Linked DNA regions of Homo sapiens: region 2 is linked to region 1. The links are contacts of gene promoters, found by promoter capture Hi-C in blood cells and fetal thymus (Javierre and others, 2016). All regions are on one chromosome and are shown on one strand. Each heading gives the region's core, a stretch centred on a gene start or on the middle of the fragment in contact. The rest is flanking DNA. Distances are from core to core; before and after follow the strand shown. Region 1 holds the start of KPNA5 (karyopherin subunit alpha 5). Region 2 has its middle 13 kb from the start of HSF2.

What was found. Contacts are between HindIII fragments. The CHiCAGO score rates a contact against its expected background, and 5 or more counts as called.
Region 2: a fragment that was not itself captured here is called in contact with the fragment with the promoter of KPNA5 in region 1 in 1 of 17 cell types (total CD8 T cells); the score reaches 5.8 in total CD8 T cells.

The regions. Positions count from the first base shown.
Region 1 is chr6:116,678,874-116,684,421 of GRCh38, forward strand. It overlaps KPNA5 (karyopherin subunit alpha 5), which reads left to right and starts at 2,338. Exons shown (of 14, transcript NM_001366306.2): 1 at 2,338-2,465. The coding sequence starts at 2,462. RefSeq lists enhancers at 1,935-2,918, 2,919-3,900. The HindIII fragment of the contact is 1,991 bases long and covers 1,854-3,844 here.
Region 2 is chr6:122,384,290-122,389,837 of GRCh38, forward strand. No RefSeq gene overlaps it. Among named protein-coding and RNA genes, the nearest start is that of HSF2, 13 kb to the right of the region's middle. The HindIII fragment of the contact is 804 bases long and covers 2,158-2,961 here.

The DNA of each region.
Region 1 (5,548 bases), core at 1,088-3,587:
TCACGTCCTGGCCATTTGGGGTAGATTGCTACAAGGGTTATTGCTTGGCTTCCTGGACTGGTTGCTAAATATAGTAATCTGATTTCTTGGACTGGTTACTGGACATAGTAGGTTGCCTTCCTGGACTGGTTGTTGAAGGTTGTAGGTTAGTGTTCTATTTGTATATATTCTCTGGCCATTGTCTATTTGAATTCAGTCTCCCAGGACGGAGGAGTAGGGAGGAAATAAGAAAGGGATAGGGTGGCCAGGTGATTAAGGCAAATAAACTCCTATCAGTACTCCAATAGTCCTGTTGTCAGAGGCGTTTGAACCAGAGTGACTCCAACTTGAACAGGTGCTGGGTAAAACGAGGCTGAGACCTACTGAGCTGCATTCCCAGGAGGTTAGGCATTCTTAGTCACAGAAGATTGGAGGTCCACGCAAGATACAGGTCACAAAGACCCTGCTGATAAACAGGATGTCGTAAAGAAGACAGGCCAAACCCACCAAAACCAAGATGAAGACAAAAGTGACCTCTGGTCATCCTCACTTCTCATTATACGTGAATTATAATGCATTAGCATGCTAAAAGACACTCCCACCAGCACCATGACAGTTTACAAATGCCATGGCAACATCCAGAAGTCATACAGTCTAAAAGAGGGTAGAACCCTAAGTTCCAAAAATTGCCTGCCCCCTTCCTTGAAAACTCATGAATAATCCACCCCTTGTTTAACATATAATTAAGAAATAACTGGCTGGGCGCGGTGGCTCACGCCTGTAATCCCAGCACTTTGGGAGGCCGAGCCAGGAGGATCACCAGGTCAGTAGATTGAGACCATCCTGGCTAACACGGTGAAACCCTGTCTCTACTAAAAATACAATAAATTTCCAGCTACTCGGGAGGCTGAGGCAGGAGAATGGCGTGAACCCGGGAGGCGGAGCTTGCAGTGAGCCGAGATGGCGCCACTGCACTCCAGCCTGGGCGACAGAGCAAGACTCCGTGTCAAAACAAACAAACAACACACAAAAAAACTATATACTCAGTCCAGCAGCCCAAGCCACTGCTCTGCCTATGGAGTAGCCATTCTTTTGTTTCTTTACTTCTTTAATAAACTTGCTTTCACTTCACTATATGGACTCATGATTGGCAACGCTTTCTGGTAACACTGCCCAGGTTTCCTTTGTCAAGCGTGCCTTTCTCAGCCCTACATACCCACAGTTAAATAATCCCTTCTCTCCTGTTTATTTTTCAACTATTGAAAATAGCAAACATCTTAAAACAATTTGTCTTCATGTTTTTCCTCTTAAAAAATTGCAAACGTCTTCTGGGCAGGATTTATGTATTGTTTATCTTATTTATTCTCTTCCTATTGCATCTGGAACACAGTCTGTTTTCAATACCGTTTGTTGAACTCCAGGGTAGATTACAGGGCTGTGTATTATAATCTACAGTACTTTAACTGAAGTTACTCGTTTATTGGTGACTACATTGCTGTCAAAAATACACTCATGTGGCTGGGTGTGGTGGCTCATGCCTGTAATCCCAACACTTTGGGAGGCTGAGGCGGGCGGATCAGGAGGTCAAGAGATCAAGACCATCCTGGCCAACACGGTGAAACCTGGTCTCTACTAAAAATACAAAAATTAGCTGGGCGTGGTGGCGCATGCCTGTAGTCCCAGCTACTTGGGAGGCTGAGGCAGGAGAATCGCTTGAACCTGGGAGGCGGAGGTTGCAGTGAGCCGAGATCGCATCACTGCACTCCAGCCTGGTGACAGCGCCAGACTCCGTCTCAAAAAAAACCCCCCAAAAACAGAAAAACAAAAACAAAAAACCGCAGATGTTATAGAATATAAAATTATAAATGACAAAAAGCTTGAAATAAAACGAGCAGAGCATATAAAAGTTAATGAAGCTGAAGAAAACGTGAGCTTCTCCGTACACTTAACAAGGCTGCGATTTTTACCAACTTTTTTGCACTGTTGTAGCCCCAATAATGTATCTAAAATGGTACTTGACACAGTTTATATCCTTAAGAATGTATGCATGCACGCACGCGTGAAGAATGAATGAATGAGGGGTCGTCCCTTTGCACACACGGAGGTCTACGGGCCGCAGAGTACCTACAGCATGGCCACCGCAAGCGCAACTAAAATCCAGGGCTTGTCGCAGGCACAGGCTCCTCCTTCGGTGGGTGGGACGGCGGCGCGCACTTTCTCTACGCCCCACTGCTAGGATGTGCGGCCACCACTCCTCCTCCGCCGCCGCCGCCGCCGCCGCCGCCGCCGCCGCGTCGAGTGCAAGGGCTTCTGGGAGCCGAGCCTCGGGGTCTCGGAGAAGGGGCGCAGGTGGCCGCCATCTTGGATTGCGAACTGGGTCGCTACGCTTCACGCCAGGGGCGGAGTGGCGGCCCTTCTGTTACCCGCCACACACGTCGCCGCTGGGGACTGGGAAATCAGGGCATCGGAGAGTGCCACATTAATGGGTAAGTTGGAGTGAACACGGGCTAGGTTGGGGGAGCCTCGGTTTTGGTCCCTTTGGGAACTACTAGTTCCTGGGGCCACGGTTTTTATTTACCCCTTACTTTGCGAAGGTCTCTGGAACCTGGCGGTGCCGGGTGTTTCTCGTGTTTTCCCCAGGGCGACAGCGGTCGCGGGGGCGTGGCAGCCGGACCTTTCCCTTGCGGACGCGAAGGCGTGGTGAGTTCAGATTCTTTCAGCAGGTCCTCTGGAGTGATGGGCAGCTGGTCTCATCTTCGCCGCCCCGCCTCACCGTTTCTCGGTAGTTCTTTTCAGTTAATGGAATTGCCAAACGTTGCCACTCATACCTGGTACCCATCAGCTGTGTCCAGCAGCTTATGGAAATTCCACAGTGTCCAAAGAAGAGACAGGTTCCATCCCGAGGGCCTCCTAGCCTCGCCCTCTCCATCCGCCAGCCTCCCTCCTCCACCTGCGTGCAGGTGCCTCTAGTGCTCATTCCCGACGACAAGGCAAGCCTGGGTTCCACGCTTCTAATAGTCGGGCAGCTCCGTTCTAAGATGAAAACTTAGGTTTTCATCGATAATACATAGGAGATGGAAGTATTTGAAAGCTGTGAAATGACAGTGATATGTCTAAAGAATATGACATTGGCGGCGGGCGCGGTGGCTCACGCCTGTAATCCCAGCACTTTGGGAGGCGGAGGCGGGCGGATCACGAGGTCAGGAGATCGAGACCATCCTGGCTAACACGGTGAAACCTCGTCTCTACCAAAAATACAAAAAATACAAAATAAAATACAAAATAATAAATACAAAAAAAATACCAAAAATACAAAAAAAGGAAAAATTAGCCTGGCATGGTGGTGGGCGCCTGTAGTCCCAGCGACTCGGGAGGCTGAAGCAGGAGAACGGTGTGAACCCGGGCGGCGGAGCTTGCAGTGAGCCGAGAGCGCCATTGCACTCCAGCCCGGGCGACAGAGCGAGACTCTGTCTCAAAAAACAAACAAAAGAATATGACACTGGCATTTACTTTTGAGCTTTTTAGACATGTTTTTTAAAAAAGACAAAAACACTAATGATTTATCTCTCAATTACAACACCCAATAATGATGACTCATATTCTGTACAAAAGTGGTTTTCTTGGTAGGTCAGGAGCAACTCTCTCCCTCCGACCTAAGTACTGCTTGTTTGGTTGTGAGGGCTCTCTAGTTGGCACTTCCCCCGCTTTGTGCAGTCTTTTACTTTCACTAATGAGGCGCCCAGCCCCATGGAAATGAAGGCTTTACTGGCATAAGAAATAATGTCGATTGATATTAAAGAAAATCATAAGTTCAGATTCCAGTTATTTGCCCAACTTAAACATGGTTTTTCTAAGAGCCGTTGAAAGCTTATGAATGAAAAAAATTCCTCTATTCTGTAACTTTAAAGTGCTGGAATAACATTTCTAAATAAAAATATTTAATTTTTATGAGACCTCAGCCTTTGAAGTGCAGCCTTTAAATTTATTTTTCAGTGAACGAAACAATCCCATTGGATGGGGCCCCTTTAGAGATAATTTCCCTTGGTTTATTGTCCCCTTTAAAGCAACTGCAGTGAGGATGGATGCAGTGTTAAATCTGAAGCCGGAAGTCAGTACTATTGAAGAAAAAGGAACAAGTGATATCTGAGTTGTTGGTGCTGTATTTTATTTGGCTAAAATTTATGCTGAACAGTTACAATGTGGTTGCTTGGATTAATGGTCTCATAAGTAGCGCCTTTGTATGTGTGCGTGGTGGGGCACAAGGTGATCCAGTCAGATGTGGTAAGAAAATATTAGAACTTCTATTTGTTTACCTTTTAAAACTTTCATTCTTAAAAATTTCTGTTTTTTGTGAATTTTATGCTAGAGTAGTATATTAGAATAGTAATGCATGTATAGAAATAAATATATTGAGGATGAATGCACAAATGTATTTTACGAATGTAGGATGTGTGATTGAAAACGTTTAGAGCCAGTGGCCTAGAATATGCTACATATATAGGTGATAAATACTTTAAGAGTTTTATTTCCATGAGCATTTTATTTTACTTAAATATTTTATATATATTGAGCGTAATTCAACAACTAATACTGTGGTCAGTTTGCACTGTAATGAACTCTGATCTCTAATTTTTTCCTTTCAAGAGTCTAGCTTTTTATAGATATAAAATAGAGAATAATACCAAACATTGTTATTAGTAAAGTTATGTTGAGCGGTTTCCCTCTTTTATTTATTATTTTTTTTTGAGATGGAGTCTCACTCTGTGGCCCAGGCTGGAGTGCAGTGGCATGATCTTGGCTCACTGCAAGTTCCGCCTCCCGGGGTTCATGCCAGGAGTCTCCCTCCCGGGGTCTCCTGCCTCAGCCTCCTGAGTAGCTGGGACTACAGGTGCCCACCACCACGCCCGGCTAATTTTTTGTATTTTTAATAGAGATGGGGTTTCACTGTGTTAGCCAAAATGGTCTCGATCTCCTGACCTTGTGATCCACCTGCCTCGGCCTCCCAAAGTGCTGGGATTACAGGCGTGAGCCACCGTGCCCGGCCTTTTTTTTTTTTTTTTTTTTTTTTTTTTTTTTTTGACAGAGTCTTGCTCTGTCTCCCAGGCTGGAGTCCAGGCTGGAGCGATCTTGGCTCACTGCAACCTCTGCCTCCCGAGTTCAAGCAATTCTCCTGCCTCAGCCTCCAGAGTAGCTGGGATTACAGGCTTCTACCAGCATGCCCAGCTGATTTTTGTATTTTCAGTAGAGACAGGGTTTCACTATATTGGCCAGGCCGGTCTTGAACTCCTGACCTCAAGCGATCGACTCTCCTTGGCCTTCTAAAGTGCTAGGTTTACAGGTGTGAGCTACCCCGCCCGGCCATATTGAGCAGTTTCTAATGATATCTATTTGTAGGTGCACATAGTATTGCTGAATCTATTAAATATTTTAAAGGAGGAATTTTGGTAAATTAATCATGCATTTCTTTTCAATCATTCTCAAGTCCTCAGCCCCTTCCCTTCTACCTTGAGCTCCACCAGTAGTGAGATTTGTCTCACTATCTTTACCAGTGACATAATTACCAAATCTG
Region 2 (5,548 bases), core at 1,310-3,809, 5.7 Mb after region 1:
TTTCCACAACTCCTTTTTTCCAAGAGTTTCCTATTTGTTCTTGGCTATTTCTATTTTATCATTTGTTCCAGTCACATTTTATTTCAACCCATTTATTATTGCCCTTCCATTTATTTTTATTTTTAATAATTTTCCCTCTTTTTCTCATTATCTTTTTTCCATCTATGGGTTCTTCTTCTTTTATAATCTATTAACTTTAAAAAATTTCTTTTTTGCCAGGCACGGTGGCTCATGCCTCTAATTCCAGCAGTTTGTGAGGCCAAGGCAGGAGGATCACTTAAGCTCAGGAGTTCAAGACAAACCTAGGCTACATAGCAAGACCCATGTCTCTATAAAAAATACAAAAATTAGCCAAATGTGGTAGCACATGCCTGTGGTCCCAGCTACTTGAGATACTGAGGAGGGAGGATTGCTTGAACCAGGAGTTCAAGGCCGCCGTGAACTATGATTGTGCCACTGCACTCCAGCCAGGGCAACAGAGTGAGACCCTGTCTCAAAAATAATAATAATAATGTCCTTTTCTCTTTTTCTTTTCACATTTATTGAGAAAGCTACCTCTTCTCCACTTTTGCAAAGTGGGAACAATATCTTGGCTGTATTCATTCATTTACTTATTTCATAAATACTTAACGAATGCCTACAGTATATAAGACATACCAGGTATCATGGTTGGGAAGTAGCAATAAGGAATGAATGGGGAACATAAAAATGAAAAAGACATAAATCCTTTCCTCTGTTGCTCATAAGAAATAAACACAAGGCCAGGCGTGGTGGCTCACACCTGTAATCTCAGTGCTTTGGGAGACCGAGGAGGGTAAATCACGAGGTCAGGAGTTCGAGACCAGTCGGGCCAACATGGCGAAACCCCATCTCTACTAAAAATACAAAAATTAGCCAGGCATGGGGGCGTGCACCTGTAGTCCTAGCTACTCAGGAAGCTGAGGCAGGAGAATCGCTTGAACCCGGGAGGCGGAGATTGTAGTGAGCCGAGATAATGCCACTGCACTCCAGCTTGGGAGACAGAGTGAGACTTCGTCTCAAAAAAATAAATAAATAATAATTTAAAAAACACAAAATAACTACAAGGCAGTTTAATATCAGTATCATAAGAAAAATGCAATATTTTTCTCCTGGACAGGGCATTAACATAGAAACTGTGAGGGCTCTTGAGGGACACATAAGATATCCATAAAGGTAAGTTAGGAGAGCAAGATGGCTAATAACACTGAGGCAGAAAGAAGGAATAGCTTAATTGTACTGAAGTAAGGGGTAGATGTGGAAGAATAGCTGGAAATTCTGTACATTATTTGTCTTACAGTAAGGATGGTTTCTCTGCAATATTCATAATAGAATCTGCCTTTTGGTAAACCTTTTCAATCCTTCTATAGACTTGGTGGGAAAGATTGAAAATCACAATTACTAATCAGTACTTTTTCTTGGTTTATTTCTTCCTTTTAAATGGGAGTAAAATAGTATCTAATTCCTGGGGGGTTGTTCAGAACTAAATTAGTTAATAAATGTAAAGTAGTTATAACTGTTCTTGCAATGTATTAAGGAGTGTAAAGCCGTTTCTTATGCTGTTGTTGTGCTGAGGGTTAATTGGGGCCAATTCAAATGCTCCATATTCATTCCATGAAGATTTTCTAATCTCTTCAACCCACTCTGATCTTTAACTTTGCTGTACACCTAGTCAGTGTTACCTGGTTAATACTTAGTTATTTGCTAATGATTTTGTGTATTTTCATTTTGTGTTTTCGTTAGATCATAAATTCCTCTTGGCAGGGACCACAAATATTGTACAATTGTCAGTGTAACTAGTATGACCGAAGACACCTAATAGACACTCAAAAAATGTAGCTAAACTAATCAATAGCTTTCATATCTTAGAAGTGCAGGAGTAAATAGTATGAAATGTAAGGCTGCACATTCATTAATGGGAAATAAAAATTATAAATAACCTCAAAAGACATCTAAGAAGAACTGCTCAAATGAAGAGTATTTTAGCATTCAGTTATTCAACAGTATCAGGGAACATCTGTTAGACACCTACTATTATGTGTGTATTTGTCCATAATAAATTCATTATTTAAATATGAGGTTTTGTAAATGAGTGAGGCTCAGAGAGGTCCACAGTCACACTATCATTAATAATGACAAAGCTTGCCAGGCATGGTGATTCATGCCTGTAATCCCAGTGCTTTGGGAGGTTAAGACCAGAAGATTGCTTGATCCCAGGAGTTCAACACCAGCCTCGGCAACATAGTGAGACCCCATCTCTACATAAATACAAAAATTAGCTGGGCATGGTGGTACACACCTATAGTCCTAGCTATTCAGGAGGCTGAGGGTAGAAGATCACTTAAATCCAGGAGTTGAGGCTACTGTGAGGTATGATCATTCACTGCACTCCAGCCAGTGTGAAAAAGGGAGATCTTGTCTCAATAATAATAATAATGGCAAAGCTATGTCTGCCAAACTTCTAATAGGTGCTCTTTCTTCTGTAATACCTTCCATTGATATAAGTAAATTTGAGAAATAATTTCCATTTGGGGACTGAATAGACATTTTATATAATTAGCACAATTATAGAGACATAAAGTGAAAATAAGAAAAATCAAAATGTTTATTTCCAGAATCAGCTAAAGAAACAGAGCAGGAGTTATGAAATGTCAAAAACTGATTGATTTAAAAGGCTGAAATTCTGCAAATGTATTTTGAATTCCCAAAATACATTAATATTAACATTTTCCAGTAGTGAAACAAATGCTTTTTTACAGTTAGTATGGAAAATCTTGGACAAGTATTTATTATTGAGAGAATCAAATTTCATAACAGCAATCAAATCCTTTGATTTTTATTTCATGTTTTTAAGAATCAGCCTACACCCTTTCTTGAACCCCAAGAAGTGGGCCATTTCTTTGCTAACTTGGAGTAGAGTAGAGCTAATGCATCATTAAATAAAGCTTGTCTCTATGCCAAGTCCTTTACTCAGCTCTGGTTATTAACTTAGTTGATAGCATTGCATAAAGATGCTCTCCTCTTATTTATTCATTTATTCATTTTTCAATAAATATTTAATGAACACTCATAATGTGCCAGGCACACTTCTTGGAATACATCCATGGAAAAAAATGAAGATCCCTGGCCTTGTGGAAAAACTAAAAAGAAATTGGGGTTGTATAGGGGAGAGTAATCAAGAAGGTTACAATTTTAAACAGGCTGGTCAGGACAGGCCTCATAGAAAATATGACGTTTGAGCAAAATCTTAGAAGCCAGGAGGAGAATATCTAGAGGAAAGAGCATTCCAGGCAGAGAAAGCTGTTAGTGCAAAGACCCTAAGACAAAGTGCTCCCAACATGTTTGAAGAATAAGGACTCCAATACATCTGTAAAGAGGTAAGAGCATTAAGAGAAGAAATATGTGATCAGTCTTCCCCCAATCCCCACAACCCAGGTGCAGAGGTTTTACCAGAGGCCGGGGTTGGGTGAAGACAAATCACACAGGTGCTTGTAGGCATTGAAAAGACTTTGACTTTAATTGGAGTGGAGAGATGGAAATGGAGAGCCTTTGCAAAGTTTTGAGCAGAGGAGTGACACGTGCAGTTGAAAATAAATAGCACATATTGGTGATGTGAATAACTCTTGGTAAAGTTCTGAACAAAACAAAACTGAATCTTCCCTTTTCTAGAAATTGGATCCCTAGAAAATTAAGTGCTGTATATGATAAAATCTTAAAAAAATACATAAATAAATAGTAAAAATCCATCCAATTACTTGTTCAAGGATAATTTAAAAGCATTAGGCTAGCCAAGGGAAAATGTCATTTGATGACACTTAAAATATACAGTCAATTTTTGCATTCTTAGGTATCAAGTATTGCATATTTATTAAACTTTTTATACTCAATGACAAATTTCACAATGATTATCTTAATTTTAATATGGAGAAATAATTCTCATTTCACCTAGGCTTAAAATAATGCCTTAATGTCTCATAATTAACTTTTTTGGTTATAAAAATAAAAAATATTAATAGCCATTAAAATGTGTTCATGAGTTTATCCAGCCACTATAAATCAGCAAGGTTAGTAAAATGTTTTTATCAAAGTTGTTTAATATCCAGAGTAGTTGGACTTTTTGGTTGTCACAAGGTTTTGGTATAGTTGAAAGTCCTCCTATAGAGAGTACATTAGCAGTCTCAGTTGCTAAAACAATGGAAAATTATTTTCTCACTGTTCTGGAGGCTAGAAGTCCAAGATCAAAGTGTTGGCAGATCTAGTTTCTTCTAAGACCTTTCTTCTTGGCTTGCCGATGGATTCCTTTTCCCTGTGTTCTCACATAATTACCCCTCAGTCTGTAGGTCTGTGTATTGTCTGCATTTGAATCTCCCCTTCTTATAAGGACACCAGTAATACTAGATCAGGCCTACCTGCATGGACTCATTTTATATCAATTATATCCATAAAGGCCCTATCTCAAAAAACAGTCACATTCTGAGGTACTGGGGGATTCAAATTTCAACAAATAAAGCTTGAGGGGACACAAGTCAGCCCATAACACATAGTATAAAGACCCAAATGATTTATCTGATGGAAACAAGACTCAGGATCAAAGCACACAATGACCTCACTAAGCACCAAAGCAGGAGAACCAAAACATGTTTTTGTTCAATTATGTTCATTTGTTTGTTTATTGCAGATTTTTATATCTTAAAAACATTAAAATAGTTACCATAAAAAAGCAGAACTTTATTACACATTCTAATTCTTATTAGAATAGAGTCTTGTTAACTGGTGACTATAGGTCTTAGCCAGCCTGTGGAAGATCCTGAGTAAGGGCTAAGGGAGCAGCCCAGCCAAGTAGGTGGGTATGGGCGGCAGGGCTCTGCCTCTCATATGGGAATTGGAGTGCAGCCTAGTTATAGGCTAAAGAGAGTCAAATTGGAAGCCTGCCACTTTGAACAGGGGATGTCAAGCACTCACTCTGGGAACATCAGATACAAGAGACTTGGGATACCAGATTTGGTTTGGATTCTTCTAGGGTCATCATACGGCAAATCATAAAGTGATAGAAAGGCATAGGCTTCAAAGTGGAAAAGTCTGAATCAAAACACATGCACACACACACACACACACAAACACACACACACACATATATATATAAAACATGCTGATCGTGAACCTATTAGAATGTAATCGAACCTCTCTGGGTCTCAATTTCAATAAATATCTCTAAACACCAGAACACTAGCTCATTTTGTTTACTATCTTCATTTTTCACAGCTGGCTAGGACTAGAAGAGATAGTTACAGATAATTATGAATTAATTCAGTGGAAAATAAACCAGACCTAAATTGGTCCAAAAGCAATACAGAATATATCTTCAGCCACCAGTGCCCCCAAAAATCACATGTAATAAAGTGTATAGTTTCCTGGCTTTGCATTGTGTTATGAAAATAACAAAGAATAAAGGTATCTCCTTTTATTTCTATCCAAAGGTGAAATCACCCCTGAGCACTAAATATTAGATTATTCTCTGTCTTGCTTAAAC